4 separate regions of the Homo sapiens genome follow, and regions 2, 3 and 4 are each linked to region 1. The links are contacts of gene promoters, found by promoter capture Hi-C in blood cells and fetal thymus (Javierre and others, 2016). All regions are on one chromosome and are shown on one strand. Each heading gives the region's core, a stretch centred on a gene start or on the middle of the fragment in contact. The rest is flanking DNA. Distances are from core to core; before and after follow the strand shown. Region 1 holds the start of CFAP54 (cilia and flagella associated protein 54). Region 2 overlaps ELK3 (ETS transcription factor ELK3). Region 3 overlaps ELK3 (ETS transcription factor ELK3). Region 4 overlaps CDK17 (cyclin dependent kinase 17).

Region 1 (2,665 bases), core at 71-2,570:
TATTTACTTACATATTTGTTTAGTGGTTGTTTATACCCACAAAAACATATGCTCTATAAGGACATGGATTCTTATATGTTTTGTTAACTTGATGTTTTCCTAGTTCCTTGAACAGCACTTGATATACAGTATGTGCTCAATAAATAGTTGTTATATGCATAAATAAAAAATATTTTATTTTATTTATTTATTATTATTATTTTTTGAGAAGGAGTCTTGCTCTGTCGCCCAGGCTGGAGTGTAGTGGCGCGATCCCAGCTCACTGCAACCTCTGCCTCCCGGGTTCAAGCAATTCTCCTGCCTCAGCCTCCTGAGTAGCTGGGAGTACAGGCATGTGCCACCATGCCCAGCTAATTTTCGTATTTTGTATTCATGTATAAATTTTTGGCTCGCTCAAGGGTTTCACAACTTTCCATGTTATGAGTATATAAATTTGTATATGGAGAAAAAGGAATAACTTCGAGGTAGCTCAGGTTCATGAAGCTAGCTCTTGATACAATGAAGTATGTCATCCTGTGAACATGTGCACTTTAATTCCTTCTTATATTGCTATTAGGATTACAGTGACTTTTTCTTAATTTTGCTATTCATTCTGCGCAACTGTTTGCCTTTTTGGGAGTTCTATCACCATGTTATTACTGCAAACTGCGAACTCTTTTTAAGGTTCTTTCCTGCTTATGTTACCATCTTTCTTTTCTGGTCAAATAACAAATGGTGAGTTATGAAACATTTCTGTGTAGATTTTTATTTTGACCTGAGCAGGAAGCCAAGATATAACAGCTCCCAGGAATTAAGGATTGTTAAGAGCGACGAGTCTCCACTTCTTAAACTTTGTCTCTCCTGGGCCCTTCAGCCAGCCCCTGCGTCCGCAACGCTGAACCATCTCTGGGGCCACCACCTGCATCCTCCAGCCCTTTCCAGGGGTCCCTCCTCTGGCCGGCGCCCTCCCCAGTGCCCCGCCAGCGCTTACCAACGCCGGCGGAATTCGTGCTTCTCTTCCTCCGTGGTGGCTAAAGCCTTCTTTTTCCTCATAAAGCCTAACAACTCCTGGATCTCCTTCTCACAAGAGGCCAGGAGCGGGTTTTTCGCGTCCAGCGGCCCATAAAACACGGCTAGGGGCAATGAGTCCTCGGGGCAGGTCCACTGAAGCAGCGAGCTCCGGGAGCTCCCCTTCGACTCTGGGGGCGACCTCGAAGTCGCGGTGGAGGTCGGCGGCAGTTCTGGCAGAGACCCCGAGGTGGTAGAGTCGTCTGACGGAGAGCTCGAGGGGGAGCCCTGCGCCGCCATATTGACGCGCCCCGGCCCGCCTGGAGTATGTGTACACGCGGTTGCCTGGCGACGGTCTCGTGGCAACCGGGCATCCCGCGCGCATTCCGAGAAACACAGCGGCCCCTGGAGGGCAGAGCGAGAAAGAACCAGGTCCAGAAAACAATGATGCTCCTGAGGGCGTTGCCTGGTTGTGCGCTGGCACCGCTGTATGAAATGCGAACAGAGAATGTTCTGAGCAGAGCGCTGGCGAATATTAGAGCCAAAAATTTAAGGTCACAAATCCAGACTATACTCTTTATCCATGTTGGCCACTTAATAACGATAATGATGACGACCATGACCATTAACGTGTGTCAGGCATTAAGCATTTGAAACATGTACTTTCATTTATCTCATTTAATCATCATAACTACTTTACAACTTAGGATACTATTAGTATATCCATCTCACAGTTTAGGAAACCAAAGCTCAAGGAGGTTAAGTCATTTGACAAAAGTCAGCGTACAACCGTAGTGTCAGCGACCAGGTCCTCCAAAGGGAACTTGTGACTCCAAAGCCTGTGCTCAAAATGAATAGGCTGTATTGATCACTCCCCAAAACAAAGCTTATTAATCAAATTGAAATTAGAGAAATATCTGACAAGCAGTTTAAGAATCAAATACAGTTGGCCCTCCAAATCTCGGGTTCTTCATCTGTGGATTCAAGCAACTCCAGATTGTAAATATTCAGAACAAAATTAGAAATAACAATACAACAATAAAAATAACACAAAATACAACTATTTACATGGCATTTATACTGTATTAGGTATTACTAGTTATCTAGAGATGATTTAAAACATCCTGAAGGATGTGCACAAATTATATGCAAATACTACAGCATTTCATATCAGAGGCTTGAGCATCCACAGATTTTGGTATCTGCGGGTGTCATGGAACTAGTCCCCCACAGATAGCCAGGGAGTACTGAATATGCAGCTGATCCATTCTCTTTCCTCTATTTGTACCTTGAGGTCTGTAACTGTGGACATGATGTCTATGCCTCTAATAATTATGATTACATCTATTTATGCACATTCCAGCCTTACTTTAATTATCTCTGTATTCTAAATTAATGTGCATTTTGCTCAACCTTAACCATAGGACATTAATACATACTAGTGGCCTGAAGTGTTAACTCTCAAAATACTTTGCATTTTAAACAGGGCTTTTAGGAGACTTTACTTCTGATGGGGAAACTACAGACCTCCAGGGAAATACTTGGGGAGTTTATTCTTAGCCTGTGTATTATAGGCAAAAGTCAGAGTTAAATTTATTAAAGTATGAGTATTGAGAAAATGGAGAACCTTCTTTTCTATAAATTATGCAACACAATAAATTATCTAAGAGAAGAACCA
Region 2 (2,665 bases), core at 115-2,614, 250 kb after region 1:
TCCCTCCTTAAATGATGGCAGCGAAGGGCACATTTAAGGGTCCCATTCAGCACAGGAGATCTCATACAGAGTCATGGAGAAACCTCACTGAGCACCAGCATACAGGCCGACGCCCAGGGCACCTTAGATTAGAGTCAAGGCCAAACAACAGTTCCAGTGGCCGCGGCCACCTTGCTGCATCCTGGAGCTCCCACCTGCAACTTAACCCGCGGGGTCTCATTTACGCCAGCGACCTCACACTCACGCTGCTACTCGAAGCTGAACAGCCCTTAAAAACCTTTAGAGAAATTTGGGAAACTCAGATGTTTTCCACCTGGACTTTGTTAGCAGCGTCTCTGCCGAGTGCCCTGGGTCAGAACATGCCCAGGAAAATCAGCTCCCAGCAGGAAATAAATTAAATAAGGGTGTCATTGGACCCACCTGACCCAGGGTCAGTTCCCATTAAAAAGAAAGTGTGCTGGCCTGGTGTGTTAATGCTTCCTTCGCTAAAATTTTAAGTTATTTTTAGTTTTAGCTCATAATATTTTTCTCCCTGGGGAAAAACTTTATTTTTTTCCCTCAGCGAGTTTGAACACTCATCTAAACTGAGTGAAGTTTTTAGAGCCTAAATAATTACACAAAAGACAAACTTCTATAAATGTTTTATTTAGAGCCAAAATAAAAACACAGAAGAAAAAGGATCTGAATCATTTATTCTAACAAGTCTTAAATAACTGTTTCTTCTTTCCCAAAAAAAAAAAAAAAAAATTCTAATTTTCTTATAGGTTTGGAACATCATGTCTAAGTTGGGATTACATTCATGAACACATCAAGAAATAACCAAGGGCTGTGATAAAAATGACAGAAAATGTCTCTCCTGCTCAAAAAATGGTTGGGAACTGAAAGGCAGCCTCAGACAGATCATATGGCCTTGCTGTGTTAAAAAGAACATGAGGAACAACCCACCTGTCCACCAACCAGCAAAAGGATAAATGAAATGTGGGGTGTCCTTACAATGGAATATTATCCAGCTGTAGTAAAGAATGAAGCTCTGCACCAAGGCCTAGAATTCATTATTTGAGGAATAATGAATTACTAGACTATAGTAAGAACAATAAGGAATATTGTTTGGAATAGTAAGGAACAAACATAACATAATGGGCCTCAATTTCATTAAACAGAATCATAGATTTTTTTTTTTTTTTTTTTTGAGATGGAGTCTTGCTCTGTCGTCCAGGCTGGAATGTAGTGGCGTGATCTCGGCTCACTGCAACCTCTGCCTCCTAGGTTCAAGCGATTCTTCTGCCCCAGCCTCCCAAGCAGCTGGAATTACAGGCACCCACCATCATGCCCAGCTAATTTTTTTTTTTTTTGAGATGGAGTCTCGCTCTGTTGCCCAGGCTAGAGTGCAGTGGTGTGATCTCGGCTCACTGCAAGCTCCGCCTCCCTGATTCACGCCATTCTCCTGCCTCAGCCTCTGAGTAGCTGGGACTACAGGCGCCCGCCACCATGCCTGGCTAATTTTTTTTAGTAGAGATGGGGTTTCACCGTGTAAGTCAGGATGGTCTCGATCTCCTGACCTCGTGATCTGCCTTGCCTCGGCCTCCCAAAGTGCTGGGATTACAGGCGTGAGCCACCACGCCCTGCCTAATTTTTATAGAGACGGGGTTTCACCATGTTGGCCAGGCTGGTCTTGAACTCCTGACCTCAGGTGATCTGCCCGCCTCAGCCTCCCAAAGTGCTGGGATTATAGGCATGAGCCATAGAATAGAATATTCTATTCTATGATTCACTGCAAAGTGAAAGCAGCCAGATATTACATGATAAAGGTCACATATGATTCCATTTATATGAAATGTCCAGAATCATGATATCTATACAAAAAACCAGAAAGTAGAGCATGGTTACCTAGGGCTGAGAGGGGTGGAAGGAAGGAGGTAATGAAAATGTTCTAAAGTGGGTCACGGTGATGGGTGCAGAACTCTATACTCAGAGCCACTGAACTGTATATGGTAAATGGGTGAATTGTATGGTATGTGAATTTTATCTTAATGAAGCTGGTTTTTAAAGAAAAGAACATATAAGAATCTTAAGTATTTTACGTGTTTAAGTGGAAGACAGTGGGAACTTTCTATAGCTAGAAGCAACTGTCATAACCCTACTCAGAATGTAAAAAGGGAGACACTGGGAAGGGCCCTTCAGTAGCTGCTGCCTCTGCTGGGGGAGCAGAGAGGACACCAAGAGTTTTCTGGGGAAAGGTTACGCAGTGACGGGGATGGAGACAATTTACTAGCTGGCCAAAAGGAGGAAGTGACAGCCATTGGAAAGAACCGAGGCAGGTCATGCTTCTCTAGAGACCAATGGGAAAGACGGATTCGATCTGGCTACCTGGAAACCTGCCAGGGTCGAAGGCTAAAGAGTGGAACTGGGAGGGAAGAGGGCAGGGTCGGGTACAGTAAGTGGGTCAGAGCAGTGCAGCCCAGTGACTCAGCACCGGGGACATCTGCTAGACGAGGGGAGCTGGTAAGGAAAGCCCCCCACAGCGGTGCCCACGGCTGGAGGATTAGGAACAACCTGGGCTCAGAGGACGTGTGTCCCTGCAGCTGCACTGACAGCCCCTTCTTCCTTATCTTCCAGGGCTGCCCCCAGAAGCAGCGCCATGTATGTTTGAAGATCTCTCTGTGGC
Region 3 (2,665 bases), core at 45-2,544, 230 kb after region 1:
AGTCAGGGCTCCACCACTTACGAGTGTGTTATCTTGAATAAACTAGCCAATATCCCTGTGCCTTAGTTTCTTATCTCTAAAATAGAATTACTGGGAGTATTAAATGAGAAGCCACCAAAAGTGCTAAGAACAACGTCTTGCACACAATAAGTCATCAATCATCAATAAATGTTAACTATTGTTATGTTTTATCTTTATTTTTTCAGACAGGATCACTCTGTCGCCCAGGTTTGAGTGCAGTGGCATGCTCATGGCTCACTACAGCCTCAACCTCCAGGGCTCAAGCAGTGCTGCCACCTCAGCCTCCCTAGTAGTTGGGACCACAGGCACACGCCAGCACACGTGGCCAATTTTTGTATTTTTTTTGGAGAGACAGGGTCTTGCTATGTTGCCCCTGATGGTCTCGAACTCTTGGGCTCAAGTGATCCACCCATGTCACCCTCCCAAAGTGCTGGGATTACAGGCATGAACCACCATGCCCGGCCTTAACTATTGTTATTTAGTAGCATTTCCAGTATGTTAATCACTTAGTAATCTTTGCTTCTACTTAATTTTCAATACCTACTTTACCCCTCAGACCCAGCTCAAAGTCTGCCTCTCTTGAGCTCACCTCTAAAATGTCTTCTAATTATATCCTGTGTCCACTGTTTTAATCTCAAAGATGATTCTCCCTTCAATATTTGTAGTATCATTTCCTCTAGCCAGGTATGGTCGTTGACACCTGTAATCCTAGCCCTTCCTAGGAAGCTAAAGCAGGAGGACTGCTCGAGCCCAGGAGTTCAAAACCAGCCTGAGCAATATAGTGAGACCTCGTTTCTACAAAAAAATTTCAAAACTTAGCCAGGCTTGGTGGCATATGCCTGTAGTTGTAGTCCCAGCTACTTGAGAGGCTGAGGTGGGAGGATCGCTTGAGCCCAGGAGGCAGAGGTTGCAGTGAGCCGAGATTGTGCCACCGCACTCCAGCCTGGGCAGCACAGCGAGCTCATCTCAAAAAATAAAAATAAAAATTTCCTCTTATCTTCCTGTTCCTTCCACTTTCTCTTCAGTTCTTCCTCCACACTAATATCAGTGATTGTTCTCTAAAACAGAGATCTCATCCTCCTACCTCCAGCTTAAAAAGCGTAAACATTTAACAGATAAAGAGAGAAATTCCTAAGCCTATATTCAAGGCCCACAGCTGCGTTTCCAACCTTATCTCCTATCACCTGGTCCCTTCCTGAACAGACTCTCACGTCCCCGTCATTCGGCTCTATTCATCTAAATGTACTCGATCGAAATCCTGTCCCTTCCTCCCAGCTGAGGCGCCACTGCTTCCTTGGAGCCTGTCCAGTGGCCAGCTGGAAAAAGCGCGTCTGCCCCTTACTTTCTGCAGCAGTTTGTTTACTCATCCACTATTCACATATTCTCTGTCCCTACAGTCCTTGTCGCAGAGCATTGCAAATATTTGCTGGGGTTAGATTTGTTGAACTAAAAATTACAGCACACATTCTTAATTGAAAACTTAATTAGCTCTACCTTGTTTCAAGACATACCTATTCCTACTAGGTATATTCCACATTGGAACAAAATCTGTTTCAAAAGTCATGGAACAGACATCCTTAGACAAGAAGAAAATAATAAACTGTCCAAGAAAAACCGAGTTCACTTTATTTATATAAATCAAGGTTCTTTGTTTACATTTAGCACAATGTCTTCGGTGCCTCTCTCCTTACCTAAACATTTCTCAATTTTAAAGCATACCTCTTCCAGAAAGGCGTCTTCTCTCTCCTTCCTTGGAATTCTTTCATATCTGCTATAACCTGCTATAGTAATCATATTAGGGGCCCTTCTGTACAAAAATGCTTCAGCTGTTCAACTATTACCCCAAGGATTCTGATCAACCTTTCCAATCATGGTAATAGGAAACTTGCCAGCATCATTTAAAATGTGTAAGCCAAATCTATTTTTTTCTTCCTTCATTACATCTATAGCGTACATGAAAGAGGTTTGTTGTTATTTTGAAAGAAAATTATTTTCATCAGTTTAAAAGGGATGTTGGCCAGCGTGGTGGTATGCCTGTAGTCCCAGCTACTCCAGAGGCTGAAGTGGAGGACTACTTGAACCCAGGAGTTCAAGACCAGCCTGGACAACATAATGAGACCCCGTCTCTAAATTTAAAAAAAAAAAAAAGTTCTTAAAAAAATAAGAGGCACTGCTGATAGTAATCTGAATTCTGAATATGTATCAATTGTAACATCTAGTTTTAAAAATCAGAAAGTTATTCCTCTACCATATTTTGTTGTTTACCGTTCTCAAAATTGCTATTTTCAACTTTTGCCATACTCAGTTGCTCTTTTCACAGGAAGACTAATAATATTTTAAAAGGCAAAAAATTGTTTTTCCTTAGTCTCCTGGATCCAGCCACAAAAAGAGAGCCCAAGGCCATACAACCTGTCAGCCATCCGGAATACCAGCTTGTCTTTTTTTTCAAGGGTTGTATTCTGAATGGCTTCAGGAAAGAGAACAGGTCCACTTGGTGAAATTAAAACTCTAAGCAGGTAGCCTTTAAATGCAGTAATTTCTGATGCAGAATTCTAAATATAAACTAGGAACCTCTGGTCTGCAGTGCTTCTCAAATTGGTTCCTAGACTGGGTAGTATCACTAGGAACATGACAAAAATGTTTT
Region 4 (2,665 bases), core at 55-2,554, 180 kb after region 1:
TTAGGCATTTTATTTTGTTCTAAGAATAAGCTTATTGTGATTTCTTAGTGGTTATATAACTTATAAAATTAATATAGGGAGGACCAGTATCTTCTCCTTACTTATTCTTACCATTTGGTGGCATTGTATGTTTTTATACTTAAGTCTTATATTTCTCAGTAAATATTTATGCAGTTCCTATACCTCTCCATTCCGTTTCATGGTTTGGCTGCTGTTATGAATGGGAGGAATTTCTTTTTATAGGGCTTAAATTTCTTGATACAATGATATAGGCAAGATTCTTTTCAAGTTTATCCCAGCTCACATTGTATAATTAAATAAAGTAGAAATGCCATTAACATGGCAGTAATAAATACAATTCTCTTTCCCCATGTTGCATACAAGATCATATAATGTCTACTTGGTTAGTTATTTAAACTGATCACAGAGTTTGTGGTAGTGTTTGCCTAATGTTACTATATGGTATAATAAATTTAAAGTAAATTTCAAGTTGAATTTACCAGTGAAAGGACTCAAAAATTACTGAGGTTGCAAAATTTCATTTCTGTAACACTTCGCTGTATACTTTTGCTTACAGTAAATGTTTTTGCCATGAGTATATTACATATAATCAATGTAGGTAACTTTGCAACTGCAATAAAACTTTACAATTACTTATCACTAAGAAATAATATGTTAGAGCCTGTGAATACAAAAGCCAAATGCCTTGCCTTTACTATTTTGGATTACCTTTTTTTTTTTTTAAGGATTTAAATAAGCGGTTATCACTGCCTGCAGACATCAGAATACCTGATGGATATCTTGAAAAGTTGCAGATAAACAGTCCACCATTTGACCAACCAATGAGTCGAAGGTCTCGTAGAGCTTCCTTAGTAAGTTTTTGGTCTCCTATACCTCCACCATCAATCAGATCTGCTTGTTTGCTGCTTCTGGGTGTAAACATTTTAAATTAATTTTTATACTTGACTTTAGAATAGCTAAATTTTATTATATTGCCTTCTCGATTTTTATTATTTTCCATTCTTAAAGGTTTATTGGAGTCCTTAAGATGCATTCAATAGGATGCATATTGGAATAGGATTTAAGGTATATTTTATTTTTGGTAAATGTTATTAATACATGCTAGGTAGATAAATACATACTAGATATATAGATACACTAGATATGTGCTGGATAAATAAACATGTATTAATATATACTAGATATACAGAGAAGTACACAAACCATAATTGTACAGCTCAACGAACCTTTGAAATGTTAATATACCTGTGTAACCAGTACCTGGATCAGTAAAAGAAAATTTCAGAAATCCCAGAAACCCCCTTCTGTTCCCTTTCTCTTTACTTAGTATTCCTCACTTCCTCAACTGTAGCCATACTCTCTGCCTTCTGATGCTAAAGATTAGTTTTACCCATATGTGTGACATTGTTCTGATCATACTGTTTTTATAGTATGTTTTGGTATCTGGATCTTCTAAAATCCCATTCACATATATTCTTATTTGTTTTTTAAATGTGTAATATTCTCTTTCTGATTATCCTTATTAAAACGTCTGAGCTTTGTGTAATTATGAATATGTAATTATATTAAAATATATTTTATGTAGATATACAGAATTATATACTTATACAAAGTTTGTATATATATATTGCACAATATGTATCCCAGTATGTATGGAAGTTATACAGTATGTATTATTTTTGTTGTTAGCTTCTTTTGTTCAGTGTTATGTTTGTGAGTTTCAGCCCTATTTTTGCATGTAATTATAGATAATTCGTTTTCATTGTTGCATGGTATTCCATTTATGAGTGTACTGTACTTCATCCATTCTCCTATCGATGGGCATTCTGGTTGTTTTCGGTTTTTGGCTATTACCAAATAATGCTTCTATCACCATTCCTGTGCATGTTTTTTGGTTAACATGTAAGCATTTCTGTTGAGTGCTTACCTAGGAGTGGAATTGTTGCATTATATTCTGCTTCCCTAGATACTGTCAACAGCTTTCCAGAGTGGTTGTACCAACTTATACGTATATCACTAGCATATAATAGTTCTGGTTGTTCTCCTTGCCAACTTTTGATAATGTCTTTTAAAAATTATTATTTTAAGTTTTCTAGCAAGTTGATAGTGGTCTCTTGGTTTTATTTTGCATTTCTCTGATGACTAAGTTGAACACCTTTCTGTGTGTTTATTATTCATCGTATGTTTATTGTATGTTTATATTTAGATACTCTCTTTTGTGAATTAACTACCCAAGTCTGTTTTTCTTCTTTTTTCTATTGGGTTTTCTGTCTTTTTTATTGGTTTATACGAATTTTTAAGTATACTTTATATACAGGACCTTTGTCAGTTACATGTCTTACAAATATATTTTCTTAATATTTAGTAATTAACCCAGCACCATTTATTCAAAGGATAACTTTTCTTATTGCAGTATCACTTTAATGTAAATTCAGGTGATTGTTTATGTGAGAATCTCTTTTGGATGACTATAGTCCTGTAGTAGAGATACATATAAAGTGCTTTGGGACAACAAAAGAGGCAGCAAGTAAAATGCCTTGGCAAATCACAAGCTTACAGAGATAGCACTTGAGCTGGTCCTAGAAGGATGGGCAGAAATTTGTCAGTCAAAAACGGCCTATGAATGAAGGGTGTTGTAAGAAGA

The links. The method cuts DNA at HindIII sites, captures the fragments that hold promoters and counts their contacts. A CHiCAGO score of 5 or more calls a contact.
Region 2: a contact is called between a fragment that was not itself captured here and the fragment with the promoter of CFAP54 in region 1, in 12 of 17 cell types (total CD8 T cells, naive CD4 T cells, total CD4 T cells and 9 more). The highest score is 16.2, in total CD8 T cells.
Region 3: a fragment that was not itself captured here is called in contact with the fragment with the promoter of CFAP54 in region 1 in 13 of 17 cell types (total CD8 T cells, neutrophils, naive CD8 T cells and 10 more); the score reaches 12.7 in total CD8 T cells.
Region 4: a fragment that was not itself captured here is called in contact with the fragment with the promoter of CFAP54 in region 1 in 7 of 17 cell types (total CD8 T cells, naive CD8 T cells, non-activated CD4 T cells and 4 more); the score reaches 9.4 in total CD8 T cells.

What each region holds. Positions count from the first base shown.
Region 1 is chr12:96,488,232-96,490,896 of GRCh38, reverse strand. CFAP54 (cilia and flagella associated protein 54) reads right to left here and starts at 1,320. Exons shown (of 68, transcript NM_001306084.2): 1 at 971-1,320. The coding sequence starts at 1,287. RefSeq lists an enhancer at 1,072-1,281 and a silencer at 1,172-1,466. The HindIII fragment of the contact is 3,410 bases long and covers 1-1,875 here.
Region 2 is chr12:96,242,530-96,245,194 of GRCh38, reverse strand. All of the region lies in intron 2 of ELK3 (ETS transcription factor ELK3), which reads right to left. Among named protein-coding and RNA genes, the nearest start is that of ELK3, 49 kb to the right of the region's middle. The HindIII fragment of the contact is 3,050 bases long and covers 1-2,665 here.
Region 3 is chr12:96,262,321-96,264,985 of GRCh38, reverse strand. All of the region lies in intron 4 of ELK3 (ETS transcription factor ELK3), which reads right to left. Among named protein-coding and RNA genes, the nearest start is that of ELK3, 69 kb to the right of the region's middle. The HindIII fragment of the contact is 7,613 bases long and covers 1-2,665 here.
Region 4 is chr12:96,309,259-96,311,923 of GRCh38, reverse strand. CDK17 (cyclin dependent kinase 17) reads left to right here. Exons shown (of 17, transcript NM_002595.5): 5 at 747-872. Among named protein-coding and RNA genes, the nearest start is that of CDK17, 90 kb to the left of the region's middle. The HindIII fragment of the contact is 2,543 bases long and covers 33-2,575 here.